Linked DNA regions of Homo sapiens: regions 2, 3, 4, 5, 6 and 7 are each linked to region 1. The links are contacts of gene promoters, found by promoter capture Hi-C in blood cells and fetal thymus (Javierre and others, 2016). All regions are on one chromosome and are shown on one strand. The core of a region is centred on a gene start or on the middle of the fragment in contact, and the rest is flanking DNA. Distances in the headings are between cores, read along the strand shown.

The links. The method cuts DNA at HindIII sites, captures the fragments that hold promoters and counts their contacts. A CHiCAGO score of 5 or more calls a contact.
Region 2: a fragment that was not itself captured here is called in contact with the fragment with the promoter of NKX2-8 in region 1 in 1 of 17 cell types (M2 macrophages); the score reaches 7.5 in M2 macrophages.
Region 3: a fragment that was not itself captured here is called in contact with the fragment with the promoter of NKX2-8 in region 1 in 1 of 17 cell types (M1 macrophages); the score reaches 5.4 in M1 macrophages.
Region 4: a contact is called between a fragment that was not itself captured here and the fragment with the promoter of NKX2-8 in region 1, in 1 of 17 cell types (M1 macrophages). The highest score is 5.6, in M1 macrophages.
Region 5: a contact is called between a fragment that was not itself captured here and the fragment with the promoter of NKX2-8 in region 1, in 2 of 17 cell types (M2 macrophages and M1 macrophages). The highest score is 8.4, in M2 macrophages.
Region 6: a fragment that was not itself captured here is called in contact with the fragment with the promoter of NKX2-8 in region 1 in 1 of 17 cell types (M1 macrophages); the score reaches 6.2 in M1 macrophages.
Region 7: a fragment that was not itself captured here is called in contact with the fragment with the promoter of NKX2-8 in region 1 in 2 of 17 cell types (endothelial precursors and erythroblasts); the score reaches 10.7 in endothelial precursors.

What each region holds. Positions count from the first base shown.
Region 1 is chr14:36,580,714-36,585,016 of GRCh38, forward strand. NKX2-8 (NK2 homeobox 8) reads right to left here and starts at 1,901. Exons shown (of 2, transcript NM_014360.4): 1 at 1,520-1,901; 2 at 1-751. The coding sequence starts at 1,676. The coding sequence ends at 189. RefSeq lists enhancers at 1-481, 482-1,292. The HindIII fragment of the contact is 11,395 bases long and covers 1-4,041 here.
Region 2 is chr14:35,877,241-35,881,543 of GRCh38, forward strand. It overlaps the pseudogene EWSR1P2. Among named protein-coding and RNA genes, the nearest start is that of BRMS1L, 53 kb to the left of the region's middle. The HindIII fragment of the contact is 8,468 bases long and covers 1-4,303 here.
Region 3 is chr14:35,915,163-35,919,465 of GRCh38, forward strand. No RefSeq gene overlaps it. Among named protein-coding and RNA genes, the nearest start is that of BRMS1L, 91 kb to the left of the region's middle. The HindIII fragment of the contact is 1,824 bases long and covers 844-2,667 here.
Region 4 is chr14:35,942,412-35,946,714 of GRCh38, forward strand. No RefSeq gene overlaps it. Among named protein-coding and RNA genes, the nearest start is that of BRMS1L, 120 kb to the left of the region's middle. The HindIII fragment of the contact is 3,104 bases long and covers 306-3,409 here.
Region 5 is chr14:35,962,710-35,967,012 of GRCh38, forward strand. No RefSeq gene overlaps it. Among named protein-coding and RNA genes, the nearest start is that of LINC00609, 110 kb to the right of the region's middle. The HindIII fragment of the contact is 2,349 bases long and covers 1,309-3,657 here.
Region 6 is chr14:35,986,837-35,991,139 of GRCh38, forward strand. No RefSeq gene overlaps it. Among named protein-coding and RNA genes, the nearest start is that of LINC00609, 81 kb to the right of the region's middle. The HindIII fragment of the contact is 1,669 bases long and covers 1,765-3,433 here.
Region 7 is chr14:37,148,660-37,152,962 of GRCh38, forward strand. The region is part of intron 1 of SLC25A21 (solute carrier family 25 member 21); the gene reads right to left. Among named protein-coding and RNA genes, the nearest start is that of SLC25A21-AS1, 21 kb to the right of the region's middle. The HindIII fragment of the contact is 312 bases long and covers 1,649-1,960 here.

The sequences.
Region 1 (4,303 bases), core at 651-3,150:
CTCTGGCACACGTCCCTCGTGTGTGCTTGCGCGACGGCTGATGAGGGCGCGCCAGGGACCCTGGCGCCCAAGGAGATGGGGCTGCAGGGAGGCGGACGGAGAGCGTTCCAGGCGTTCGGCTCCGGCCCTGCTCCAATCGCAGAGCGCGCTCCAAAGTCGAGGGTAGCCCCAGGTGCCGCCCTGCGGCCTCACCAGTTCCAGGAGACCAGGGCGGGGGATGCTAAGTGCTGGTAGGCGGGGAAGAGGCCAAGCGCCGAGCCGGGACCGAAGGCAGGGTAGCCCGGCAGAGGGCAGGCGGCGGCTGGAGGGGCGCCGCACTTCTCCTGGGCCGCGGCGGTTCCCACCTCGCCACCGCCGCCGCCGCCGCACGGCTGCCCGTCGCGAACAAGCACCGGCACCACCACGCGACGCAGCAGGCCGGGCGCGGCGTGCAGCTCGGCGGATGCTGCCAGGTCAGGCGACTCCGCCGCCCCTGGAGCGCGAGCGCGCTTCAGCTTGTAGCGATGATTCTGGAACCAGATCTTGACCTGCGTGGGCGTGAGGCGAAGCAGGCTCGCCAGCTGCTCGCGCTCGGGCGCAGACAGGTACCGCTGCTGCCGGAAGCGCCGCTCCAACTCCAGCGTCTGCGCCTTGGAGAATAGCACCCGCCGCTTCTTCCTTTTCTCGGCGTCCGAGCCCGGAGACGCGGGCCTAGCGGACGGCCGCTGCGACGAGTCTGGCGGGCTGGTCTCCAGGCTGCTCTCGTCCGAGGCTAGGGACAGCAAAGGAGACACGGGTGGGTGAGACGCCGGACCCTACGAGGGCCTGCTGCCCTTCTGGCGCGGGCGTGGAGGCACTGGCCAGAGGGCACGCCCACTAGCCCGAGACTTTCGGGATGAGGCCATTTCCTGAGTCCACATCTGGACATCCACCTCTCCGAATGCGGTGACCTCATTCATACCACAGCGGTCATCAGCGGGCCTGAGATCGTGCCCCGAAAAAACCCACCCCGGGGCCCTCTTAACATGTCCGCACCGGTAGTTGCGCTGGCCGACCAGTTTATCACAAGCTGGGTCACCAGCGCCGGCCTCCTCCAGGTCGACTGCACTGCAGTGTGCCGAGGTTTGCGGAGCCCTGAGTGGGAACGGGGTGGGGGTAAACTCGCCAACACTGGCCATCCCAGACGGAGGCCTGGAGATCGTGGCCGTGTTTTCAGGCATGGAGAGGGGGCGGGGGGTGGGGTGGGGGCGGCAGGTGGCGGCGCGTTTTAAATTTCAATTATTCCGACCTCTAGAAATCGTCAGACACAGAAACCCCAAATCTCGGAGCACCAGTGCCAGGCAGGGATCTGCTCTTAGGATGTGCCGACCGGGATGAATGCGTTAGGGGTTCGAGGACAGGGCTCCCGTTTCCAAGACTGAGGAAATCTAGACTCTGGGCTGGGATTTCGGCTTTCCGGCCCCTCGTGGGCTGGGCCCTTGATTCTGCTGCCCCACGCCTCCTACCTCCCACCCCGCACCGCAATCCACCACGCACTTACAAGGGTAGTGGCCGCGCTCCGAATCCAGCCAGGCGGCGCAGGGGTCGGGCTGGGGGGCGCGTGGTTCTGGCTCCCGCCTCGGCAGGTGTTGCGCGTCCTGCTCGGGTAAATCTAGAAGGCTGCGCACGGTGAAGCTCAGGCGTCCAGAGGTGGCCATGGCCGAGGAGGGGAAGGAGGCGGGGGCAGGGCAGGCTGGGAACGGAGGGGCGGCCGGGACGCCGCTCCTACGGATGGGCGTGGGAGGCGCTCGCCATGCGCTGGCAGCCGGGATATTAGCGCATTTACAGCGGAATCTCTGTTTATATAAACAGCTCTTCCCACCCAGGCCGCTTTGAAAGCCGAGGTCCGGGTCTCCAGGGTGTTAAGTACCTGAATGAGCACTGGACCAGAGCCGGGGCGAGCCCGGAAGGTGCCACCTCCGCCCCCGCCCCGCCCCGCACCCCGCCCCGCACCCCGCCCCTTGGCGCCCAGTTACCTCCCAGAGGCTGCAGGAAGCAGCATTTGGCATTAGCGATTCTGTCTGATTAGCCCAAAGTGGGGACAGATAATGGGGATTGTTACCAGTGAATAACATCTTGGGTGGCGAGCGGTGGCCACCACCCGCCTGACCCAGCCCCAGCTTCCTCCTCCTCCTCCTGGGCTGACTTGAGGCCAGGCCCCGCGGGAGCGCCGGGAAGGGTGGGGGTGGCAGGGGTGGGTTTATTAGCACCCAGGAATTTATTCCCTGTTTGCTTTATTCTTCGAGCTTGTTTGCTGGAGTGGTAGTTTCCCGCAATTATCCAGAAAGTGATTTACAAAGCGGCGTTAAACTCTGGCGCGCTCCCTTTCTCTTTTTGGTTGGGCCCCTCTAAGATTCAGGATGACAAGTTTCAGGAGGGCGTAAAGATTAGCCTGGCCCTGCCAGCATTGGCCCAGGGGTTTCAACGGCCGCTGGGAGCCTCGGATCACACCATACATCCCCCTAACAGCCTCAGAGGTGCTGAGGAAGGGCTGGGACAACATTCGGAGCCCCAGCTCCACGTCTCCACAGGCCGGCAAAACAGAAGAGGCTTGTAGCCAAGCTACTTAGGTCTACAGTGCCTGTCTCTTTGGCCCAGCTTCGCCCGGCCGCTGCCGATCTCGGAGCTCGGAGGCCGAGCTCCACAAATTTGGGTCCAGGCCCGCTTTAGAGCCCCTGGGCGGGGGCGCTTCTCAGGGCATCCTGTGAGGGCTTTGAGGCCTCCTTGGAGTCGCCAGATGAACTGGTGCCGCCTGTGCGCCTTGGCCCCATAGCCTCAACGGCACTCTCACTGCCTGGGCTTTGGTCTTTGCCCAGGAGCCTGCCCATGGCCTACGCTCCCCGCTCGCAGCATGGCAGACCCTGACGAGGCTGCCCGCCTTGGTCCGGGAATGGACCGATCGGGAGAATTAGGACAGGGCCTACCCGGCAGAAAATACCACCGGCCATGGGTTTCTCTGGGATCTTCTAGTTTCCACAGTTCCACCCTAGAAAATGATCAATGTAGGAGGCGCAGGGAACAGGCCGCCGTGGATACATTTTGTTGGGCCATGGCCTAGCTCTGGCCGCGCTTCAATCTACAGAGGAACGCCCTCTCAGAGGCCTCTCCTACTGAAGCTAGTAGTTTGGATATTTAGTTGCTAAATTGTAGCGAAGGGCTCTGTACTTGGGTGGCTGCACCAGAAGTCCTGGCTCCTCCCGGGCTGAACTCGAACCTGGCTCGGATGCGGCGGCGGCGGCCCTGTCAAGCCCCGCGCACCCTCCCCAGCAGCCTCCCTATCAAGCGTGCCCGAGGTGCCCGGAGCTGCACCGCGCGCTGGGTGGTCGGGCGGAGGCAACCCCAATACAGGCCAACTGCTAGGCCGCGGACAAAGGGGAAATGGAGCTCGACGCCCCGGACCTGTTGGAAGCATTTGTTCCAGTCAAGATTTTGCATTTGTTCAGTCCGGAATAATGCATGATTGACGTCTGCTCACAATGCGCTTTAACGCGCCGGGATAAATCGGAGCTTGTCCGGTGTTGTCATGGTTTTCAATGGGGTTCAATGGGATTGGGAGCACGATCGACTCTGCTGGCCGTCTTTCCGCGGCCCTGGCAATAGATTTATTAGTTATGTCTTTTTAAATAAGATTAAACTGAAATGACTTGGCTGTCCTCTCTGCAGACGGGGCCGGGGCGGGAGCCTGGAGTGGGCAGGGGACAGCGGAGTCTGGAAACCCGCCGCGCACCGCTCCTCAGCTCCCGAGCCCCCAGCGTCTAGAGAGTGGGCAGGTCGCAGACTGGCTCCAGGCCTCGTGGACTTATCTCTGGCCAGAGCCCGAGGCCTGGCAATCTCTGCCAGCCCACCTCCCTAGTGAGAAGCTGAGGCACTGACAAAGACCGTCCTGGGGAAGCAAGTGTTAAGACTGATTCCCAAATTCGGTCTTGAACTATGAGATTGTGTAAGGTAGAAGGAGCTCTGGCCTGGAAATCGGTTCGCATCCTCGCTCTGCCCCTACCTATCTCTAACCACCTCATTTCTCTAAGCTTCCTTCCTTCCTTTTTTTTTTTAAAATTAATCTGATACAGAAGATAGTAGGAGAATAGATTTGGTAATTTCTAAGGACCCTACCAGTTTTATGATTCTGTATCTCAGGAATTTTTCTAAACCTATCTTCATTGTAGCATTTACCAGCCGGATATTTAGACTCCCTCCTCCCTCAGGTTCTCGAATTCTTAGCCCCAGGACTGACTCCGTCTCCAGGATGTTCTAGGAGAGGAGGTGTCATCTTTTGAGTTTCCCAAGG
Region 2 (4,303 bases), core at 555-3,054, 700 kb before region 1:
ATGTTAGGCCATCATTCTACTCCTTTTAGAAGATTTCATTCACTCATTGGCTTCAGCTACCATTTAGGTCCTAACAAATTCTAAATTTAAGCCTCTACCCTTACCCGAGTTATATATTCAAGTTGCCCATTGGGCATTTCCATCTGTTACTCTTAACACATTTACAACTTAATATAAAGAAAACCAAATATTATCTCCTGTGCACATTCCTCTCCCAGTCTGGAATGTACTCTATTTGTGCTTCCACCCTTGATACACACAATGACTCACATAAATTCAGACCTTGGAGAGGTTGTGGCAGGTAGCTAAACTCATGAATTTTGGAGCCAGATTAGCTGGATGTGAACTCTACCATTTATCGGCTGTATGACCTTGGGTAACTTCTTTTTTTTTTCTTTTTCTTTTTTTGAGACAGAGTTTCGCTCTTGTTGCCCAGGCTGGAGTTCAATGGTGTGATCTCGGCTCACTGCAACCTCCACCTCCTGGGTTCAAGTGATTCTCCTGCCTCAGCCCCCCAAGTAGCTAGGATTACAGGTGCGCACCACCACGCCTGGCTAATTTTTGTATTTTTAGTAGAAACAGGGTTTCACCATGTTGTCCGGGCTGGTCTCGAACTCCTGACTTCTGGTGATCCACCTGCCTCGGCCTCCCAAGGTGCTGGAATTACAGGCATGAGCCACTGCACCCCGTCAACCTTGGGTAACTTTTTAACCTTTTTGTGCCTCAATTTCCCCATCTGAAAATGGAAATAATACTTCATAGGGTTGTGGTGAGGACTTAATGAATATATGTCAAGTGTGTAGAACAGGGCATGTTACATGATAAATCCTATGTAAGGGCTGTTGATGAATTTGACTTCTCCTCACATCTGTGGAATTAGCTAGTCCTGTAGATTCTAACTCTGAAACATTTCTAACTGAAAGCATTCTCTTTTCTCTATTCCCACTGGTGCTGCCCTAGTTCAAGCCTCTGGTATATTTTACTGAAATAATTGTGATGGCCTAACTGGGTCTCTCTCTTTTTATTTTATTTTAATTTTTCTCTTTATAGCAAATATTACATTTCTAGAACCCAGAACTGATTTTTTTTTCCTCCCAGCTTTAAATCTTTTTTTCAAATCTTTTGCTTACCCAGAACTTCAATTCTACTTTTTCCAGGAAATGCTTCTTCCCTGATCTGACTGTGTGGTTCTAATGAGAACACCTCTTTCTCTAATACTGCACAATTCTTGGTCCTAGTTGAGTGCACTAGGTGAACGTGTAACTCAGCCTGCCCCAATTAAAACCCTTCTCTTGGATCTCTTAAACTATAACTGCAGGAAAAAGTATCAGTCTCCCTCTTATGTTGGAACTGGGACAATAAAGTTTGGAAATTATAGGCAATGACATTTCCTGCCCTGTGGAGACAGCTGAGGAGATGAGAGGTGGATGGGGAGTTTCTTGGCATTTAGCCTCGTGCTATGAGCTGACTCATAGTCCATCTGCACTCCGGTCTTCCTTGTGTTATGTGGGTCTTCTAATAAATTCCCCTTTTTCCAAACGATTTTGAGCTGGATTTCACACCCTTGCAACATTTATGATGCATCCTTAGAGCTTCATATTCTGTTGATATCCACTTTGAAAATCATCACAAACTTTTATAATTTCAGCACAAAGTCAAGGAATTAAAAAAAAAAGGTATTCATGGAATTACAAATATATGCATGAGAAAGAGAAAAGCAGTCCCTGACAACTAGGAACTGCGTGATAGGCCTTGGTGTTCTGTTGAACATAAACAATCTCACGGAACACCAACATCACGGCCACTCTGTGACCGTGAGGAAGTGGGGTCAACGCCCACCCCAACAACATCTTGTCTAAATATAGACAAAAACAAAGTCAGTCTGCAAACCACAAAAAATGTGGAACATTCCCCTATTCTGGCTAATGTGAATGACTTCTGCTTCTTTACCAATTATAGCATTAGCCTCACTTCATTCCACCTGCTTTATAAGTAAAACTCATTAAGATACTAAATTATGGGATTGCCCCCACTTCCTGACAGCATTTTATCCAGAGCAAAGCCCACTTCCTCAAACCCTACCAAAAATCTCCCAATAAAAGCCCAAATCCTATAAGTCCCTTTTAACACCTTCTTACTCAGACATCCACAGTTCCCTATGGTGTGGTTTCTCCCTCCCTGAAATGAGCAAGAAACCCAACTTGTGCAACTGCCGGTGTGTTCCTGGTGGCCTTTGGCTGGAAGGCATTGACACGTGGAACATTTAAAACAGTTTGCTGTAATAGTTTTTTTTTTTTAACTAGATTTAGACAATGATACAAAGTACATTCTGGACACAGATCTGGGAACTTCTAGTATATAATTATAATGGCTGATAAAAAACAGACTTTAATTTTCAATTACACATTATTGAAAGAATCACAAAAGACAAAAAGACAAGGCGAAAGGCATTTCCTGAATGCATTTTGTACTGCAATCTAAATTAGATAGTAGTACTTTGCTTCTAAAGCCAGAAAATAATATTAATATTTCTACTATATTAACCAGGGACTATCATCTGGAAATGTAAAAGCTACAGTCCCAGTGCATTTTCATTAAAACCTGAAGGTGGCAGTAAATTCCTACAAGACTTAGGTGCCTAGGTTAGAATTTGTATTTTTCCTCCTAATTATTCAAAATGGTATAGTGAGACTTCAGTTGTATTTAATCCTGTTGCATACTAATTAAGAGATGTTTAGGAAGAAGATAAAGCTCTACACAAGGATTATATTATTATTACTCTTTATTAGCTGAAAAAAATTCACCATGTAAAGGGCTTAGGGACATTGCAACTGGTTATATGCTTTAGAGTTACTGTAGAAACAAAGTATGTAATTAAACAAAAGGGAACATGAGAGCTTGTAATACAGATCAAAGTGCTCTGAAGGGATGTGGCAGTAAATATAATCATCCATCAGTATCCTCAGGGGATTGGTTCCAGGATCCCTGCAAATACCAAAATCTACAGATGCTCAAGTCCCTTATATAATATGGTTATTTGCATATAACCTATGCACATCATCCTTTAATTCATCTCTAGATTACTTGTAATTCTCAATATGATGTTGTGTAAATACTTGTTATACTGTATTGTTTAGGAAATAATGACAAGAAAAAAAGGACTGTACATGTTCAGTACAGATGAAACTATTCTTTTTTTCTGAATATTTTCCATCTGTGGTTGGTTGAACCTAGCTGATGTGAAACCTACAGATATGGAGGACTAACTGCATAGTTTATATTTATCTATTAAATAATAACCATGTTGTAGATTTTTGCCCCACATTTCTCCCAATTTTGTCCTCAAAATTCTTAAAATAGAATTTTGTATGGTTGTGTTTTTACCTAATTATCTACTATAATCAATATAATCTCTGGAATATTATTAATCAGGGAAGGCTTAACTGATAATTTAATATAGACAATTTACAAATAGCAAGTTAATATTCATACTGGAAAATGAGTTACTTTGTTGATCTTTTATATAAAGATCTAGAACTAGATTGTTTCATAGTTTCTTTTCTTAGAGAGTAAACATTATCATTGGTCCACTGAATTATATCCAAAGTTATAGTAATGTTTTAATGACCTCAATATATAGGCATGAGATTATTAGAACTTTGAAAATTGGGAAGAATAGGATTTCTGTAATCTTTTTAGATAAAAGTTAAATGGGAGCGAGAAGGAGACGGATGTTGAGAGAACGAGGAGGAAGGAGAGAAAATGGCGTCAACGGATTACAGTATCTATAGCCAAGCTGCAGTGCAGCAGGGCTACAGTGCTTACGCTGCCCAGCCTGCTCAAGGATATGCACAGACCACCCAGGCATATGGGCAACAAAGCTATGGAACCTATGGACAGCCCACTGATGTCAGCTATACCCAGGCTCAGACCACTGCAACCTATGGGCTATGCAACTTCTTATGGACAGCCTCCCACTGGTTATGCTACTCCAACTGCCCCCCAGGCATACAGCCAGCCTGTCCAGGGGTGTGGCACTGGTGCTTATGATACCACCACTGCTACAGTCACCACCACCCAGGCCTCCAAGCTGCTCAGTCTGCATATGGCACTCAGCCTGCTTACCCAGCCTATGGGCAGCAGCCAGCAGCCACTGCACCTACAAGACCATAGGATGGTAACAAGCCCATTGAGACTAGTCAACCTCAATCTAGCACAGGGGTTACCAACCAGCCTGGCCTAAGATATGGACAGAGTAACTACAGTTATCCCCAGGTACCTGGGAGCTACCCCATGCAGCCAG
Region 3 (4,303 bases), core at 506-3,005, 670 kb before region 1:
CTTCAGATTTTCCACATCTTGCCTGATTGTACTGGCTAGTGCCTCCAATACAATGTTGAATAGAAACAGTGAAAAAGAAACATCCTTGCCTTTTTCCTGACCTTAGGGAAAGTGCATTGTATCTTTGCCCATCAAGCATGATGCTAACTCTAGATTTTTCACAGATGCACGTTATCAGGTTAAGGAAGTTCTTTCCTATTTCTAGCTTGCTGAGAGTTTTGTTGGTTTTGTTTTGGTTTGGTTTGGTTTTTGGTTTTGAGACAGTTTCGCTCTTATTGCCCAGGCTGGAGTGCAATGGTCTTGGCTCACTGCAACCTCCGCTTCCCGGGTTCAAGCAATTCTTCTAACTCTTGCTGAGAGTTTTTACCAGGAATGGATGTTGGGTTTTGTCCAATGCTGTTTATGCATCTATTGAGATGAATATATAATTTTTCTTTTTTAGTTTTTTAATATGCTGATTTTTATTAATTGATTTTCAAATGTTAAACCAATCTCATATCTCTGAGATAAGCTCTGTTGTTTCACAATGCATCCTTTTTATATATTGTTGATTTGATTTGTTCATAATAATCCTCTATTATCCTTTCAATAGCTGTAGAACCTATTGTGATTTTCTGTCATGCCTGATTTTGGTAATTTATGTCTTCTCTCTTTTTCTTCTTGGTCACTCTGGCTAGAGGTTTATCAATTTAATTGATCTCTTTAAAGAATCATAATTTTGTTTCGTTGATTTTTCTCTACCTTTTTTTCTATTTCATTGATTTCTACTCTGCTCTTTGTTTTTTTTTTCTTCTGTTTACTTTATGTATCATTTGCTCTCTTTTTCTAGTTTCCTAAGGTGTAAGCTTATGTCATTTATTTGAGGCCTTGTTTTTTTCCTAGTATGGTCATTTAGTGCTTTAAATTTCCCACTAAGTACTGCTTAGTATAGTAGCAGTATTCTACAAGTTTTGATGTGTTGTGTTTTCATTTCAATTCAGTTCAAAATGCTTTCTAATTTTTCTTTTGATTTCTTCTTTAACCCATGGGTTCTTTAGAGCTTAGAAATGCACTTTTCAGTTTCCAAATATTTAAGAATTTTCCAAAGATCTTTTGCTTATTGATTTCTAATTTAATTCCATTGTGACTGGAGAATGCACATGTTTATGTATAAATACCTTTAAACTTACAGAGACATATTTCATGTCCCCAAAATATGGTCTATCTTGTATTGTGTGCATGTGGAAAAAAATGTGCATTCTGCTGCTGTTGGAGTTTTCTAAAAAGGTCAATTAGATCAAGTTGGTTACTAGCGTTGTTCAAGTATTTTATACCATTGCTGATTTTCTGTCTAGTTCTCCTATCAGTCATTAAAAAAAGGTTTTTAAATCTCTGTAATTGTGGATTTGTCTATTCTGTACATTTGTGGTTTGTGTATTTTGAATCTCTGTTATTAGGTGCCCAAATGTTTTGGATTGTTTTTTGCTTATGATGAATTGACTGCTTTTTCATTATGATAACACGTTCTTCATCCCTGCTAATGTCATTTTGAAATCTGCTTTGTTTGCTATTAATAACTATTCTAGTTTTTGTTTAATTAATATTAGCATGGAATATCTTTTTCTATTCTGTTACTTTTTACCTGTTTGTGTCTTTACATTTAAAGTGTGTCTCTTGTAAACAGCATATAATTGGATTTTGCTTTTTTTTAATCCAATCTGATCAGCTGTGCCTTACAATTAGGGTATTCAGACTATTTGCATTTAATCTCATCACTGATATGGTTAGGTTTAGATCTATCATATGGCTATTTTTTATATCTTCATCTGTTCTTTTCCCTTTTTCAACTTTTTCTGCCTTCTTTGGGGTTCACTGAATAAAATAAATATATTCTTGCTGAGTACAGAATTCAAAATTAAAAATTTTTTTCACTGCTTGAAAGATGTTTCCTCTCTGCTTTCTCACTTACATTGTTTCAGATGGGAAATCTACGGTCATTGTTATCTTTGTTCCTTTATATATAACATGCATGTGGTAGGCAAAACAATTATCCATGCCTGGTTTAGATGATAAGATTTGAGACTTTTGAGTTAGTGAATAGTTCAGATTTTTGACTTTGCATTGATGCTGTAAGGGATGAGATCTTTGGAGATCTGGGGATGGGGTGAATGTATTTTGCATTCAAGACAGATAGGTAAATTTAGGGGCCAGAAGACAGACTATGCTAGGTGGAATAATGGCCTGCCAAAGATGCGCACATCCTAATTCCTGGAACCTGTGAAAAGGTTGGGTTACACGGCAAAAAGTAACTAAGACTGAAGATAGAATTAAGGTTGCTAATTACATTACCTTAAAATAGGGAGATTATCCTGGATTGTCTGGCTGGGTCCAGTGTAATTACAAGAGTCCTTAATGGAAGAGACAGACAAAAGAGAGTCAGGAAAAAAGATGTGACTATGGAAGCAGAATCAGAGAGATGCCTTACTGTTGGTTTTGAAGATGGAGGAAGGAATCCAGGTGGCTTCTAGAAATTGGAAAGAGCAGGGAAACACTTTCTTTCCTAGAGTGTCCAGGAAAGAATGAAGCCTTGATTCCTTTGAATCACTGCTCACACCTTGATTTTAGCACAGTGAGACCCAGGTCCTTCTTCTGACTTAGAGAATTGTAAGATAATAAATTTGTGTTTTAAGCTTCTATGTTTGAGATAATCTCTATGGCAGTGATAGGAAATTCATACATGTTTTTTTCTTCTCTGGCTACCTTTAAGATTTTCTTTTTATCATTGATTTTGATACATAGCATTTTTACATGCCATACACACATTGCCGTCTTTTCCCCAGAAAAAATACTAATAGAAAATACAATTTTAAAATGTTTTGTGCCACTAAAGGAAAAAGCAATAGCCCAGAAAAAGAAGAAGAAAGTTCAGCGATGCATATGTAGGTTATTTCACAAAGCAAACACTTTCTATTGAAGGCTGTAGATAGACCTTTAAAGGACCCTTCTCATCTCTTAGTTAAGTGTAGTCAATATAACATCATCTTCAGAATGATTATACATTATTATCGATAATCTAAGATTTCATAATAAAGGAAGAAAAAAGATATATATTAAAGCTGCTCCATGGAGAAGAAATGTTCACAAATCAGTAATAGAAATGTTTCTATATGTACACTCAAGGACATATGATAGGCTATTTACCTTAATCTGGTTTCATAATTTTATGTAAAGAAAATGCTATCTGTTAATCCAACTAAATTCTATATTTTAAATTCTACCAGGATTATAGAATGATATTGGGCTTTTAAAGCCCCTTTCTTCTGAGGAACTCAGAGTACTTGTGTTTATAATATGGCTTTAAATGGTCACAGTGGTCCCCAGAATTTTATCAAGGTAATAAATATTCCTAAATAAAGCCAATTCCCTACCCCACTCCCAAGTGCTAACATTGGTTGGAATTAGGAAAACTTCTTATTTTCTAAGTAAAGAAACCCTGAGGATATTTTTAAGTAAATAAGGATTAAAGGTTAGAAGAGGGCATTCAGCTGTGTAGACACAAAACAATTGAATTTTGGCAAAGCAAATTCATAATTTTCAGATAATTTGAGGCAAATTATTTCTATGGAAAAAAACTTTAACTTTTAAAAAATTACATGTCATATGTGTTCATTTTCAAAAATTAGAAGATGAAATTAAGGAAGAAAATATTAACCCAAAACCCCACTGTCAAGAATTACCTCCATTAACATGTTGTGTACATACATTGAGCTCGATATTTTCTGTTTGTCCCTTTAGTGCTAGTCCCAATCCTCTCCACCTTGCTCTGTGCCTTGGGAGACTAATTATATGGCCTTCATCAAAGAATCCCTTTGAGGTCTGACTTCTGGTAGGGCTTAGTCAATGAAGAACACCAGGGAGAGAGAAGGGGGAAGAAGGAGAGAGAGGCCAAGACATTTGTTTCCCAGCAACCATGCTGTAGAGTTTCTGTGAGAGGGCTACATCCTTTTACAAAAAGTCAGATGTCCTGTCAAAAGGCCCTCTCCCACATAAATCTTCCTGCCTAATTCCTCTGGCTCCTTCAGACAGGCTTAGACATGGTAAGAACATCCTATCCCCCACACTCATACAAACTTCAGGTTCTATACTATTCCTTGTTGTTTCTCTACATTTTGCCTATACCTTATAAATAGTCCCTATATTGAACCCTAGTCAAGTTATTCAATTTGAGTATGCTTCCTGTATCCTGCTGCTACTTTGGCTACTACCTCTATCCAGATTTGTTAGTGTATACACAAACACACACACACACACACCCCTCACATTC
Region 4 (4,303 bases), core at 608-3,107, 640 kb before region 1:
AGAGTGGTTTGTAAATCCTTGCAAAAGTAATTTTCTCTGCCAATGCAGCAAGGCAAGAAAATATAGAAAAAGTGCAAGGACTGGAAGGTAAGAGACAGTATTGTCATTATTCTTAGACGATTTGACATTTGATTTTCACAGAAAACTTAAGACAAGTGACAGGCTATTAAAATTAATGAAGGAGTTCAGTGAGATTGCTAGAAGAATCCAATAATAACAACAAAAATATTAAGAAGAGTTCTACACTTTCACCAACCAATTAAAATATGCAATGGAAAATATGATGGCTTTTATTAGAGCAACAAAGCTTGAAGAATCTAGAAAGTGACCTGAAATGCAGACAATACTCATGGAAAAATATTAAAACTTGATAAAAAGATATAAAGAAGCTCTTAGAGTTTGGAACATGGTAGGCACTGAAGAAATATTTGTTGAATGAATGAATCTGAATAAATGGAGAGATACGGCTCTCTCTCTCTCTCTCTCTCTCTCTTTCTCCCCTCTTTGTTTTTTTTTGGAGACTGCCTCTCACTCTGTCATCCAAGCTGGAGTGCAGTGGAACGATCATTGCTCACTGTAACCTCAAACTCCTGGGCTCAAGCAATCCCCCCGCCTCGGTCTCCTAAAGAGCTGGGATTACAGGTGTGAGCCACTGGGCCTGGCTGGCATTCTCATAGATGGAAAAGTTAACATTGTACAGCCCTTATTATTTATTTGTTTTTTAATGTAGTTCCAATATGGTGGGAGAAAACGTAAGGGGAAGAAACAATATTGGGAATGTGGTATAAGGGGGAACAACAACAACAACAAAAAGTAAAAATAAAATAGGCCCAGGCGCGGTGGCTCCTGCCTGTGATCCCAGCACTTTGGGAGGCCGAGGCGGGTGGATCACCTGAGGTCAGGGGTTCGAGACCAGCCTGGCCAACATGGCGAAACCTCGTCTCTACTAAAAATGCAAAAATTAGTTGGATGTGGTGGCACGTGCCTGTAATTCCAGCTACGCGGGAGGCTAAGGCAGGAGAATTGCTTGAACCCAGGAGGCAGAGGTTGCAGCGAGCCAAGATCGCGCCACTGCACTCTAGCCTGGGCAACAGAGTGAGACTCTGTCTCAATAAAATAAATGAAATAAAATAAAATAAAACAATAAACTGATGATGATAGGGTGCCATGAGCCAATCAATTTCATAGCATGTGCCTGAGAACCAAGAGAGGCGAAAAGAAATAACACAAAACTTTTCAATTAACATAAGCTAGAAAGTTACAAAATAAAGCCAGAAGCTATGGCTGATGTGCTTGATGGTGATCATCATCCCAGGAGAGCTTGAAAAGTGAATCGTTGGGTTGACTTTAGCAAGATGAAATCAGATAGGTGCAAGGGTAAAGTCTTGTCCTTAGGTCCAAAAACTCAATGGCAAAAACAGAATATAGAGAGAAATGCCTTAACAATATCACATGGGAAAAAAATTTAAGAGTTTAAGCTGTGTGAATTAATCGGATGTAAAACTGACTTACCCCCCACCACAAAAAAAGGAAAATAATCTGCTTTTAAGCTGCATTGATAAAGTAATAAAGTGTTATATAAGCCAATAATGCTCAACTTTATATTTGTAAGCCCAGCCTTCTGACATCAATACTTATTTCCCACAAGCATCTCAGATACAGCAGATACATTAGCTTTTTCTCCTAAATGTTATTCTCTGTCAAGGTAGTTTCCCAACTCATCTGTTCCCAAACTTGCATGGCTATCTACTCTTCCTCTAGAATATACTAATATACTTTCCTTTTTTTTTTTTTGACGCAGTCTCACCCTGTTGTCCAGGCTGGAGAGCAATGGTGTGATCTTGGCTTACTGCAACCTCCGCCTCCCGGGTGTGTTGTTCCTCTCCTGTGTCCATGTGTTCTCACTGTTCAGCTCCCACTTATAAGTGAGAACATTGGTGTCAATGTTTTTTCATGCATGTCTTGCCTGTAATGATGTGGGGGATGAATTTCACTATGGTGCTAACTTTGTCACCATATCCTAGGGTCTCTTTTTTCTCCTTTTTAGTTAGTTTTTATACTCAGTATTTACTTAACATAGTGTTTTAATAGATAGTGATGAGAATATATGCTTACATTTTATTTTATTGGATCACAAAAAAGTTGCTCTTCAAGTATTTTATTATTGACACAGAGTCTAACAAACATAAAGAACAGATACTTGTTAGAAATATTTATAATTTGATCCAGCTATTTAGCAAAAATTGTAATATGTATTTCTTTGAATGTTGAGCTCTGTTTCACCTCCTCCTTCTTTCTAATACCTTTTAGTCACTGTTTTAGGTTGGGTTCCCAAAGAAGCAGATCCTGAGGCATGGATTCGAGTGTAAGAATTAATCATAGATTTGGGAGGAAGAGATCCAAGGAAGGGATGGCGGCAGTGAGAAAAGGCAGGAAATGAAGCTACCGCAGGGAATGTTCTCAAGCAGCTTTCTGCTGTGGGCAGCTCCCCCTGGGACCCTCTGGAGTCAGTACAGATTCTGAGTTGTGTCACATGGAAGGCAATACATCCCTCAGCTCTTATATGTTTGTCATTGGCTAGACACCAATAACCAAGCACTTCCGGCCTACCTATCTGCGGCCCCAGAGAGAGCCCTCAGGTGGAGAACACAGGTGTTGCGGCAAGATGCAGTTGTCTGGCATAGGGACAATCTGGACAAAAGGAATGTGGGCAGGGCCACTGCCTCCTGTGAGATGGTCACCACACCGCCCTCAGAATGTTGTTGACCATGCTTCCTAAGGCAGAAAGAACAGGTATTTTTAATTTGTACTTTTGAATAAAAATCCTGCAAAAGAGACTTTTTAATCTTTATCAAATTTAGTAAATTTTTGTAAGGTTTTCATAGCCTAGATATAAATCCATATTTTAAATAGGCTTCTTCATATTTATATGTGTGTGTGTATATATATATATATATATATATATATATATACACTATATATACACATACATACACACACAGACACACACACACACACACATATTTGTGGTCAATGAATTGTTAGTATTTTTATCTGGCAAAGATATTATACAAGGAATAGAAGGATCAGTTTTGCCTTTTTCTCAGTTTCTCTTGTGCTAACTCTATTAGAATTATCTTCAGTGTGGTGTTTCTTGGAAGAGATCTTTTAATTTATCTATTTTATGACAGTTATTTGCTTAAAACTAGGTAATATTCATAAATCTATTTAACTGGACACCATAAAATGCAACATGTTACAATAATTACAAAAAAGAATGATGAGGTGATGGTCCAACCCTTCATATTATGGGATTCCATTTTCCTGCAGGATGCTCTGCTCACTATATGATGTGTGACAGTTTGACATTCAGACCTATTGATTGTTAATTGAAATGAAATATTAGTGAAGCTTAACATTTTCCTAAATCTTGGAGTAAAAATAAGTTAGAAGTTCCCATAATTTACCCCAGTGGATCATCTTGTGTGTCCCCTGTGGTGTGTGCACCCCAGTTTTGAGACCCCTGGACTGTAGGAAACAGTTCAGATGCCTTAGTGTGGCACACACTGTCCTCCATTGCTTATGCTTCCAACCTCAGTTCTTGCCTGGTCATGCCTCATACCTTGCGTTTTGGTCAATATGAACTTTTTGAAGTTGAATTGATCATGTTGAAGCGTATGGCAGAACCTTCACTTATAATTGCTTCTGCTTGGAATGCTCTTTCTTTGGACTGTCCAGTAACACCTCCTCCATGAAACTTGCTGGTCCTTTCCCACGCCTGAGGGAGAACTGAAAACATCCTTTTTGGAACACTACAGTACTTTCCTCCTTAGACCTTAACCCTTCTGTTGGACATATTTGCTAACCTTCTTGGCTCCTTTTTTTTTTTTTTTTTTGAGATGGAGTCCTGCTCTGTCACCAGGCTGGAGTAGATAGTAGTGGCGTGATCTCGGCTCACTGCAACCTCCACCTCCTGGGTTCAAGCGATTCTTCTGCCTCAGCCTCCTGTGTAGCTGGGACTACAGGCGTGCGCCCCCATGCCCAGCTAATTTTTGTATTTTTAGTAGAGACGGGGTTTTAGCATATTGGTCAGGCTGGTCTCGAACTCCTGACCTCGTGATCCACCTGTCTTGGCCTCCCAAAGTGCTGGGATTACAGGCGTGAGCCATCACACCAAGCTGGCTCCACTTATAGACCTTCATCTCCTTAAAACCAAAGATATTGTCTAATTTATCTTCACATCTCGGGCATGTAGCCCTCAACAGGAACACAGTCATACTGTTGAATTAACTATGGAAGTGGC
Region 5 (4,303 bases), core at 1,233-3,732, 620 kb before region 1:
GGACCACAGATGTGCACCACCACTCCCGGCTAATTTTTGTATTTTTAGTAGAGATGGGCTTTTACCATGTTGTCCAGGCTGATCTTGAACTCTTGAGCTCAAACGATCCACCTGCTTCGGCCTCCCAAAGTGCTGGGATTATAGGTGTGAGCAACTGTGCCTGGTCCCCATTTATTTATATATGTATATATGTATCCTTTTTCTGTTATTATTGAACCACTTGAAGTTGCAGACATTGTGATACTTCACCCAGTGATACTTTGGTTTGCGCTATCTAAGTGTAAAGACAATTTTCTATATACCCATTACACTGTTCATACCGAAGACAATTAATGTGAATTCAGTTTTGTCATCTAACATGCAGCCCATTAAAAATTTCCCCAGTTATACCCAATATATCTATTTAGGTGCTTTTGTTGACCCAAGATCCTATGAAAGTTGGTTAATTCTGTGGTTGTAATGTTTAGAAACTTTTAGTCTAGAAGGGGTCTACGACTTCTTTTATTTATGATATTGACTCTGTTTTAATGATCTAGGCCAGTTGCCTTGCAAAAATGTCTCCTCTTTGGGGATTTGTCTGATTGTTTTCTCACAGTTAGGCTCAGGTTAAACATTCTTTGCAAGACTATTGGATAGGTCATGTGTATTTCTTATTGGATCCACCAGGAGGCACACACCAGGCTGTCCTACTGTTGATGATGCTAAGTTTGATTGCTTGGTTAGGAAGGTAATGTCATGCCTAATTTCCCTATTGTAAAGTTAACCTATGTGGTCATATTTTAAAACCATAATCTTTGACCTAGTGGTTTTGGTATCCACTGATCATTTTTACATTGGTGGTTGAAAAATGGTGATTTTCTAACTCTATCATTTCCTCAATATTTTTTAGTTGGTGTATTAGTCTGCTTGGGCTGCCAAACGAAACACCACAATCTGGGTGGCGTAAATGGAAATTTATTTTCTCATAGTTCTGGAGGCTAGAAAGTCAAGATCAATGTGCTGCCAGGGTTGGTTTCTGGCGTGGCCTCTCTTCCTGGTTTATAGATGCCACCTTCTCACTTTGTCCTCACAGGATCTCTTCTCTGTGTATATGCATGGGGGGGAAGAGGGAGAGAGGGAGAGAGGGGGGAGAGAAGGGGGTAGAGAGAGAGAGAGAGAGAGAGAGAGAAAGCATGAGAGAGCCCTTTGGTGTGTTCTTCTTATAAGATACCAGTTCTGTTGAATTAGGGCCCAATCCTTAGGGCCTCGTTTAACCTTAATTACCTCCCTAAAGATCCTCTTTCCAAATACAGTCACATTGGGGGTTAAAGCTTTAACCTACAAATGTTGGTGGGGATGTAATTCAGCCCATAACAGTTGGTATTCTTCTGTAAAGCGGAGCTTTCTTTTATTTTTCCCTTACCTCCTCCTCCTTCTCTTTTCTCCCCATCTCTGCCGCCCTGTTTTCTTCTAAGTATTGCTATGGACTCATGCATTTATTTTTTATTTAATGTGATAATCTATCTCTGTCATTATTCATTTTAATGATCAAATTGTCCAAGATATGGACAGTGGGAGCTCCTTCAAATTAGTTCTTGTGTCCTTTTGACATGCCTCTATTAGTATGTAAGCACTTTCTTGCTTTCTTGAACAACAAGATATTCCAGGTTGCCTTGTATTTTCCCTATTCCAACCATTTTTGGAATCAGCCATTTCTCCAAGTAACCCTGGTTCCTTTTAGTGGGAAACGGTATTTAGAAACACAATCTGTGTGTTTGTTGTTACTAGTTATGATTACCCTCTAAACCAGTTATTTTTAATAAAGTTCTCTATATTATACCTATAGAACCTGTGCCAACGAAGGCTTTATTGAATTAGAGACTAACTCTTCAAGAGTACAATCAGGCATTTAATAAGCATTTGGAAAGCCTTTGATTGGCTTGGGACATAACATGCACTTAGTATATTGACAAAAGAAAGAAAGAATGAATGAATGGCCTTGGGTCATGGGTTTTTCTTGATCTGCTGGGAGGGTCTTCTAACTCCAGTGAATTCGCGCAGGCTGTGGTGAGTGGAGGAGATTGGGATCAATCCTAATGTATTATCTACATTTTCAGCATGTATCACTCTCTCCCATTATTGAGAAAAGTCCAGATTCCCATCTCCTGAGCCTCTATAAGCTCTTACGGCTGTTTTTCCAGGAAATGAATCTGTGGTGCCTCCAACTCTTCGTTTGTGTTTCTCAGTGCATCCCCTCAGGTTTCTAGGGCGATGAGCTGACTTATCTTGAAAGAAATACTTGAAATTTTTTCCCTAGTTTTACAAAGCAGATAGCTAAGGAATTTTTTTTCACAGATGAAGAGAATCCAGTTAAAATGAAGCAAGGAATACAGATTTCAGAGCACTTGAGAATCTCGTACATTTAATATCTATTCTGAGGAGCAAGGATTCAGTAGCAACCACTCTTTGAGGATCTATTTACTGTCAAAGTGTAATTGGATTTTGATATAGCAGTTCATTTTGATGGGGGTGGGGATGGGAAGGTGATTACAAAGTAACAAACAAAATGTAAGCGATGGGACCTTTGATTTATTTATCTTTTCTTGCTCCTGGATCTTTACAGATACTGGGAATAAACCCCTTATCCCCCACAGTGGTCTTAGAAAACAAGGCATACACTTCAACTACTTCTGCTGTGAATAATCCATTGAATCCAAACAGTATTATACTAGATTCATCAGTGTTCACACAAAGGTCATATCCTTACATATCTCTTTGAATTTGTGGGACACATATGGTGTACCACTTCTATAGAAGAAATATTTTCATTTTAGAATTCAACTTTTATAACCTTTGGCAACATGTAGTATCAATGGCTCTTTGTTGTTCAAAAAAAAAGTAAAACTGTAAGCTATCCCCAAGGATATTCAGGGCGTTGCTATAGCAACAGAATCTGCCTCCCAGCACCACAAGAGAAGCTATGAATAAAAGATGGTGTTCTAAGGACAACAGAATAGAAGAGGTTGTTTCGATCCTTCTAATACCTGATATTTGCTGTTATTTTGTTAAATGCAAAATAAAAATCTTGGGGAAAGGCCCAGTTTCAATATAGAAAAGGATGAATTTCTATATTGTACTTCAGATGTTGTGAGGAAAAAGACATGCTTTCTGAATAGTATCAGCCTGTGGTAGGAAGACCAGGGAAGGGCCAAAATATTTGATTTATATATTTTTCTGTTTAGTTTTGTACTTCAGGTGAAGAACCTCAAAGACAAATGTGTTAATCAGAAATACAAAAGAATGGGATTATTTTAAATTCTGACCCAAAATAGTTTCCTGATTCCATATTTAAACACAAGCATACTTTACATAAAGGTACCATAAAACAAAATGTTCTAATTTCAGCTTGCATTGTTTATTCTGAATCCAATTCTTTCATGTATACCTACTTGGTCATCGATTTTTAATGGTTTCAACATAGCTACCTATCTACCTACCAACCTAGCTATGTTTCATGATACTGGGTATTTTAGGACCCAAATCTGAAGGTGAAACACAAGGTTTCAGTTGATTCAGAAGTGAACGAACTTTGAACCTCTCTATTCCCTCCCTCCTCACCCACATGTACATATGTATATCTTGCCACTTGTGTCTTCATATCATGTTTAGTTTTTATGAAGCTTATTTTGTTGTATGAAGCTATTGGTAAAATGTTATTCAGAGAGGAGGTGAAGAACTTACCCCTCTGTAAGTGCTTATTTTCAAAATATTCAGAGCTACATAAAATTACTGCCAGAAAATATGACTATTAGAGCAAATGGAATGCTATAGACTAAATCGTATCCCTCAAAAATCATGTGACTAACCCCCAATGTGACTTTATGGACATATGGCCTTTATGGAAGTAATTATGACTAAATGAGGTCATAAGGGTAGGGCCCTGATCTGATAGGATTAGTGTCCTTGAAGAGTAGGACACCAGAGCTTGCTTTCTCTTCACTTGCAGACATGAAGAAAAGGCAATGTGAGGTTACATCAAGAAGGCGGCTGTCTATAAGCTAGGAAGGGAGCCCTCACTAGAAATTGACCATGCTGGCTTCCTAATATTGGACTTTCAGCCTCCAAAACTGTGAGAAAATAAATTTCTGTTGTTCAGGCCACACAGTTTATGGTATTTTGTGATGGCGGCCCAAGCTGACTAATACTCCTGTATTAAAATTATAATATTTTGTATAATTATTTTCTTAATTTTCCATCAAAGTATAGCTCTGTTTGTGGGGGAAACAGGCAGGTGCACAAATAATCTTAAAGTTTCTCTAGAACT
Region 6 (4,303 bases), core at 1,349-3,848, 590 kb before region 1:
GGTAGCATGCTTCTGGGAATGGTAGTGGTTTAAGGAAGAAGTTTGAGAGGAGTAAAGAGATGGCTTTGTCAGAAGATGCTAAAAAAAGAAGTAGAATGCTTCCATAGGCAATCAGCCCTGTACTCTCCATTGTCCCCAAAGCACAGGCCTGCTCTATCTCCTTGGCATTCTCCATAGCTAGGACTTCTCCATAGTCCAATCAAACTCTCCCTTTTATGTTTATTTGAATCCTTTGGTAATTCTTTTTCTCTTCAGGATTGCCCTTGGAATTTTAACCCAACAGCACAAAACGTCTTCAACGAGGGCAAGTGTAGGGGAGGGGAGCAGTGAGATGATTTAACTTCATCATGAACTATTAGGAATGCATCTGGGCCCTAAGGAGTTTCCAGGGCTGATGGTGCTGCTTTCTTTCTACTCTTTTAGGGTTGCCCATAAGAGCAATTCATGAGAAGTTGTTCTCGTGTGCTGTGCTCCAGTGTAATTTGAGGTGGATTTCTTCCACACTCATTATACTTGGGTATGTGAGGTTGCCAGGATCATCACAGAACTTGAGCTGTCTCGTTCTTCAACTTTGGGCGACTGAGGAAAAAAGGAGCTAGAATGGTGAGAAATGAATTTTGGACAGGTCTGAGGAAGTCAGAAGTGAATTCACCTTTGCAAAAATTATAACTCAGAACATTATTACAGTGAAAGAGATCCGACTTAAATGACTCCATCTTGCTTCTGACCTTCAGGCTGCGCTTGTTCTTTCCTGGGTGTAGGTGAAATAACTTTTGGAGGAACTTAGTTTATAGTTTACCTTTGAAACAAAGTTACAGCTGACAATAACATCCCTTTCCCCAAACAAATCCTCTTCCTGCCTAGGGACTAGACAGCCTTTGCAGGATTAACAAATTAGCCACAAAATTTGAAATTATGGTTTAGGAGTCATGCAGCTGGAGGCTGCAAGATTCTGAACCTCCCCAAATTGCTCCTGGGAATAACATCACTATTGTAAAACCTAAGATTAGGGCTTGAGATATTTTGCAGACCTTGTACTCAGTGGGTCAGCTGGCACCACTCAGATCGATAAACTGGCTCATGTGGTCTTATGGCCCCCACTCAGGAACTGACTCAGCACAAGAGGACAGCTTTGGCTCCCTATAATTTCATCTCTGACCTGACCAATCAGCACTCCCCACTTTCCAACCCCCCTACCCACCAAATTATCCTTAAAAATCCCAATCTCTGAGTTTTGGGGGAAACTGATTTGTGTAATAATAAAACTCCATTCTCCCTTACAGCCGACTCTGCGTGAATTAAATCTTTCTCTATTTTTTTTTTTTTTTTTGTCTGTTTGTTTTGAGACAGAGTCTCACTCTGTCGCCCAGGCTGGAGTCTTGTTCTGTCTGCCAGGTTCAAGCGATTCTCCTGCCTCAGCCTCCCAAGTAGCTGGGATTACAGGCGCCTGCCAGCCACCACACCCAGCTTATTTTTGTATTTTTAGTAGAGATGGGGTTTCACCATGTTGGCCAGGCTGGTCTCTAACTTCTGACCTCAAGTGATCCACTCACCTCAGCCTCCCTAAGTGCTGGGATTACAGGTGTGAGCCACCGTGTCCGGCCTAAACTCTTTTGTATTGCAGTTCTCCTGTCTTGATAAATCAGCTTTGTCTAGGCAGCAAACAAAGAGAACCCATTGTGTGGTTAAAGCAGTTTAAGAAAATAAAGTTGAGATAAAACATAGCATGATATTTAAGACTTACTGTGTATCAGGTATTGTATAAGCTTCTAAAATACATCACTACTCTCAATCTTCAAATTATCTTATGACACGAGTAATGTAGATATCCTTATTTTACAGATGACAAAACTGAGGCACAGAGAGATGAAGTAAGTTGCCTAAGGTCACACGGGAAGTGGCAGAACTGGGATTTAAACTTAGAAAGTCTTGCTGCAGAACATGCGCTTTCGTACAGCTAGCATTTAGGGAAATGCCATAGCGATACTCTGGTTGCCTTCAGCTCGGGCAGCATAGGACCAAGTCTTGCAGGGTTCCTGCACCTTGAACAATATCCAGAATTATACAGAAACATTTGGACCTCCACGAGAGCCAAAAATAGACCAGCAAGGGCAAATGACTCCTGTATCTACTTCTGAATGCGTGGTGTCCCAGGCTGTCATTTCTATTAGAGATGTACTTGCCTTCCTAGGGTCATAGTGCGGTGCTTCAAGCCACACCTTCACTCTTCTACCCCGCTGCCCAACCACTGTCAGCTCCAGCCATCACCATTCTACGCCATTTCACTCCACAGCAGCTGGAATGGCTGACAGTGTTCCAATAATTGTCTTAGTTTTGGCGAGTGTTCCACACTCAAATACATCTGCTCTTTGTTCTCAGTGCCTCCCAGAAAATTCCACGATAGATAAAAATAATGTCTAGGTCCCCACTCTTGTTTGCCTCTAGGTGTGGCCATATGACTCATGCTTGCCAGCGGCATGTGAGCAGATGGGGTCTCCCAAGTCTGGGCCTTAGGACACTGAGCATGCACTCGTCCACATGCCGTCTTTCCCTTCTGGAGAGCTGGAATATAGAGGTGCCTATGACTCTGCTTTGATCAAGCAGGAAAGGGCAACACCCTAGGCTCCTCCTACTCAGAGTATGCTTCATATCCGGGCAGCCAGGCATCACCTGGGAGCTTGTTAGAAATGCAGACTCTTGCCAGGCGTGGTGGCTCATGCCTGTAAACTGAGCACTTTGGGAGGCTGAGGTGGGTGGATTGCTTAAGGTCAGGAGTTCAAGACAAGCCTGGCTGACATAGCAAAACCCTGTCTGTACCAAAATATACAAAAATTAGCCAGGCGTGGTGGTGCATGCCTGTAGTCCCAGCTACTCGGGAGGCTGAGGCGGGAGAATCACTTGAACCCGGGAGGTGGAGGTTGCAGTGAGCTGAGATAGCACCACTGCACTCCAGCCTGGGTGACAGAGCAACACTCCATCTCAAAAAAAATGCGGCCTCTCAAGCCCTATCCCAGACATCAAATCAGAACCTGCATTTTTAACAAGAGCTGGATGATTCACACGCACATTAAAATTTTATGAACCAACAGCGTAGAAAAATCCTGGTTCTCTGAGTGATCACATGGAGCATGGCTTCCCTGATGACTGTTCCTCTCATTTGAGGAGTGTTACAGCAAGAATAGCATAAGCCTCTGTGGTAAGCCACTCTAATGTGGGGTCTGTTTGTTACAATGGCTTAGCCCTCATCCTAAGTAATGCTGTATTGTTATCCTGGTTTTAAGGATGAGAAAAGTGAGATTTAGAATGTGTACCTTCAGGGCTCTGACAGGAAGCAGGATTCAACTTGAGTGGTTTGAACAGAGATTAAGGATGGAGGGCTGGTGTAAGGGCAGGGTTAAGGACAAAGTGCTCATGTAGGGTTTTTTTCCCAGGAAGCTTGGCAGTAAAGGGAAGGAAATCAACTGGTGGCTGAAAGTAGCCTGGGGGTCAGGAACCTGAATATATTGGTGGGCAGTGGGAAAGGAACCAGTAGAATGGAAAAGATCAATGTTAAGGGAGGGTTTGATGGGATCCTGAAGGAGGGGAAGAACAAAAGCATGGTCTAGGCCAGGCGTGGTGGCTCACACCTGTAATCCCAGCACTTTGGGAGGCTGAGGCGGGCAGATCACTTGAGGCCAGGAGTTCAAGACCAGCCTGGGCAACATGGTGAAACCCCGTCTCTACTAAAAATACAAAAATTACCAGTGCATGGTGGTGCACGCCTGTAGTCTCAGGTACTCTGGAGGCTGGGAGGCAGGAGAATCGCTTGAAGCCGGAGGCAGTGGGCTGAGATTGTGCCACTGCACTCTAGCCTGGGTGACGGAGTGAGGTTCCATCTCAAAAAAAAAAAAAAAAAAGCATGGCCTGAGGGGAGAGGATGTTTCCTCTGAGATGGGGGAAAGCGATAAAGATGTGTGTGGAGGTGGTCAGTGTGTGATGTGTGTGTGTGTGCATGCCTGTGTGAGTGTGTGTGCATGAGTATGACTAGGCTTGAGGGAACTCATATCTTCTCTGTGAAGTGGGAGACGAGGTCTTGTTCTGAGAGAGAAGGGGCCATTTCCTGCACTAGTTTGAGGAGACCCTGTGTGAATCAGTGAGGGAAAATGGTGAGTAGATGTGGGGCAGGGCTGTGTGTAGAGTGAACATCTTGACTGCTTTAAGTCTCTCTGCTTTGTTCCTGGGCACAAGGTGGTCAAATTGGAGAATCACTGTGGTCTGGTAGGAAGTTGTAGTTTTTGATGAGGAATATCCTATATTAGATACA
Region 7 (4,303 bases), core at 555-3,054, 570 kb after region 1:
ATATACATTTATTGAGCAGCTACTATATTCAAAGCACTGTGGTAGGCCTGGAGATACAAAATAAACATGACTTGGTCTCTTCCTTAGAGGGGCTCACTCTTCATAAGACTTAAAAAACAAGAAATAGATCCAATGCACTCTTTTAAACTAATAACAAAAAATCAAGGAAAAGTAAAATAGATGCTTGTGAAAAGCCTCTTTGCAGAGTGAAATGGAATACTACATATTATGTAAGCATACCAATGAAAACATTATCAGTATATATAATGCTGGATGACGGCTATTTAAATATCCAAATTGAATGAACAAATGATGGCTCACAATAGCCTCAACCTCCAGGGCTCAAGCAATTCTCCCCACTTTGGCCTCCCTAAATGCTGGAATTACAGGCGTGAGCTATCTGTGCCTGCCTAGATGATCCATTTTTTGACTATGGAAGATATGAAGCCAACAAGAATCACATAGACATCATTATCACCACTGTTTTTTTTTAACTTAGATGCCAGTGCCTCTACTTTTCTCTTTTTCTTCCCTTCCTTGCTTCTTGTTGAACTTCTAATCTCCAGCTATGAGCTCAAAATACAAGGTATACACCAATGCAGATGTCCATGAACACATGAAAGAAACAGAAAATCTACTGTCACTTTCTTGATGCTTTATGAGGCAAACCTAATGAAACTATATTGCTCTGTAAAACAAAGTTGCTTACCATTTTCATATCATATTCCTATTTCAACTTTACAGAATATAAATTAAATGTTTTCTTAGGGCAACTAAAAACTGCTCCATCAAAAAAAAAATCCGCTAGGGCCGGCCACGGTGGCTCACACCTGCAATCCCAGCACTTTGGGAAGCTGAAACCCCATCTCTACTAAAAATACAAAAATTAGCTGGGCATGGTGGTGGGCGCCTGTAGTCCCAGCTACTCAGGAAGCTGAGGCAGCAGAATCGCTTAAACCGGGAGGCAGAGGTTGCAGTGAGCTGAGACAGCACTACTGAACTCCAGCCTGGGCACAGACTCAGGCTGACTCACAGAGCAAGACTCAAAAAATAAATAAATAATCACTAAATAGTCTTTAATATTTCTTATATTTAGTACAGTACCTTCAATATTCATCCTCCTTAGAACTATCTTGAAATCCCTTAGCTGTATACATTTCTCATTAAGAGAGAAAAAATAATTTAATTTAGTAATTATTTAAAAATTTTTTAAAGACATGGGAAAGTTATACTGCCATCTTGTGGTTAAAGTTTGATTACAGAAGCAAGCACTTCTGGCATTTCCCATTCATAAACCAAATCCACAACATAATATGTATCATACTTAAAACTTTTTCCTTACAGAAGGAGTAGGGTTGAAGGAAAAAAATCCTGTTTAGAACTTACATTCAAGAAAAATTATTATTCATACATATACCCAATTTCTTATGTTAAAGGCCACTGAATTAAAACAAGAAATGGCATTTGAGTCCCAGATACATAAATAAAACCTACGTGTTTGGCACTGTAGCTCCTGTTTAGAGATGTTTATAATTTATTATGACTATAATACATACCCTAGCCCTAATAACTTTGAAAAACAAAATTATGGAATCTAGGAGTTTCAGGTAATCTCTAAGATCTACAAGAAATTATGACATTTATCCTAAGCTTATCAATGATTTCTATTTTATCCAGGACTCTAATTCAAATTTTACGGCAAGAACCAACATAAAGAAAATAAATATTATACAAATAAAAACAGTTTCTTCCATCCCTCTTTCTTACTCATATACATAAACCCATTTTTCCATACATACACAGGTATGAATCACAATTAAAAGAAAAATTAATTCCCAAAGTACAGTCTGTATTTTTCAAGTGTAGAATTCTCTATGATCTATGCAAGGCAAAGATGCTTTGCAATAGTGGAATGTAATCAGAAGTTAACACACTTCTAGATCTAACTATATCTGCAGAAAGCTTTTCCTTTTAAAAAGAAAATAAAAAGCAAATCACCAAAATTATAGGAAGACAGCGCCATCTATAGGTCTGCACAAGTACAGAATAGTAATCTTAGTTTCAGATATAAATGTCCACTGTGATAAACTAGCCAATCAAATGTGCTGTCCTAGGCGGACGCTCCAAAATAATGCTGCTCATTCTCAGATCTCTGGAGAGGATCTTGCAATTTACTCCAAAGTGCTTTAACCTGCCTCTACAATCATGCCCCAAAATGATAGTGATAATAACAGCAATAGAAGCCTCAAGCAATCAGAACAAAAACTAATGTTTTTCACAATTGTATTATTCTGATTTGGCATACTTGATGGTCGATAAATATTGGTAACTTTTCAAGAAATATTAGCACATTGGTAGGTTCTCTCTCTCTCTCTCTCTTTCTCTTCATTCTGCAAAATTACTTTGGGCCATGATTCTATTTTAGGTGTCATCCAATTCTATCGAGTTCTATTGAATTTCATTCTTCTTTCTCCAAAGAGGAGGCTATACGTTCTCCCTACAGTAGTCTATTCTAGTTTTTACAGACATTAAATTACATGCGACTTAAGATTCCCTCCTTTTTCAGACAGGCCCCTCCTGTCCACTCTTGGGTTGCTCTCACTCTACTGAGTCACACCAGTATCTTATTAGTTGTGTGCGAATTCAGTTAACAATACGTGAGGGTGGAGGCTTGGCCCACTTCCTGACCAATTGCCTGTAGCATCTGGCAGAAAAAAAGATGCCGCATTAATGCCAACAGAGGCACTGCTGGTTAATATGGAGAATTTCATACTTAAGCTATGGCTGGCATTTAAAAATCTGCAAAAACAAGAAATGGACTTTTGTACAAGGGCAGACCCTGTTTGTTCATTAACACTCAAGTTCAAGAAAAAGCTGTGGTATTTAACATAACCAGAGAGAAAAAGAAGACTTATGGGGGCAATACTTGAAGGGGCTGCTTACCTGATTTCTCATTCTGCACACTAAGAGGCAGGGTGGAGTAATGGATGAGAGCTCAAGCTTTGAAAGCAAAGAGCAGAGTTTGAGTCTGTGTCTGTCATCAGCCTTGAACAAGATATTTAATTTCTCTGAGCTTCACTTTCCTCATCTTCAAGAAATTACAAATTGGCTCATGCCTGGAATCCAGCACTTTGGGAGGCCAAGGCGGGCAGATCACTTGAGGTCAGGAGTTCAAGACGAGCCTGGCCAACATAGTGAAACCCTGTCTCTACTAAAAATACAAATATTAGCTGGGCAGGGTGGCATGTGCCTGTAATCCCAGCTACTTTGGAGGCTGAGGCAAGAGAGACGCTTGAACCCAGGAGAAGGGGTTTGCAGTGAGCCGAGGTCACTTCACTGCACTCCAGTGTGGGCGACAGAGAGAAACCCCATCTCAAAAATAATAATAATAATAGAGATTATTTAAGCAAAGTAAGATGCTTTGCACATAGTAAGCATTCAGTAAATGTTAGCACTCAAAAGATAAGATTTATCTTACTTTTTAAAATCTTATCATACTTATTGACTATGATAGTTAGGAAGGATCTACCCAACCCAAACAAATATCCCAGGAAGTTCATTGTGACTTCTAAAGATGACAAAAAGAATGAATGAAAAGACTGAACTCAAAATAGAAATGAGAAAATGATAATTTGTTTGAAGGTCTGATATTAGTTTCAAAATATATCTCTGAAACATCTTTGAAAACCATTAGCGTCCACTGACTCTCAATTTCATTTTATTTCAATTTTTTTTTTTTTTTGACAGAGTCTCGCTCTCTCACCCAGACTGAAGTGCAGTGGCACAATCTCAGCTCACTGCAACCTCTGCTCCGGGTTCAAGCAATTCTCCTGCTTCAGCCTCCTGACTAGCTGGGACTACAGGCGCCTGCCACCATGCCCAGTTAATTTCATTTTATTTCTGCTATATACCTTAAAAATGTGAGCCTGCAGAGCGCAGAGAAGTCAGAAACACAGTTCTGGAAGTCACCTGCAAACAGACAACACTGAAGCCAAAGAGTGGATGGGTTTGTTTGGGGAGTTAGAATGTGTAAAACACAAGAAGAAAAAAACTAAATAAAATGAATTTAAAATAAATTTTTAAAAGACTGTGTAAAGCAAAAAACTTACAAACATGTAGAATATCAATTTTTGAGGAAAGGGAAAGTGGAGACAATAGAAGACTAATCAAATAGGGGAGAAAGGTTCAAGATGGTTGAGTAGGATTTTCTGGCTCTACTTAGAAGAACTGGAATAGTATATAGACAGTCACACTTCAAATACGTTATCCAAGACAGAATGCTGATGCTCAACACAGAAGAGAC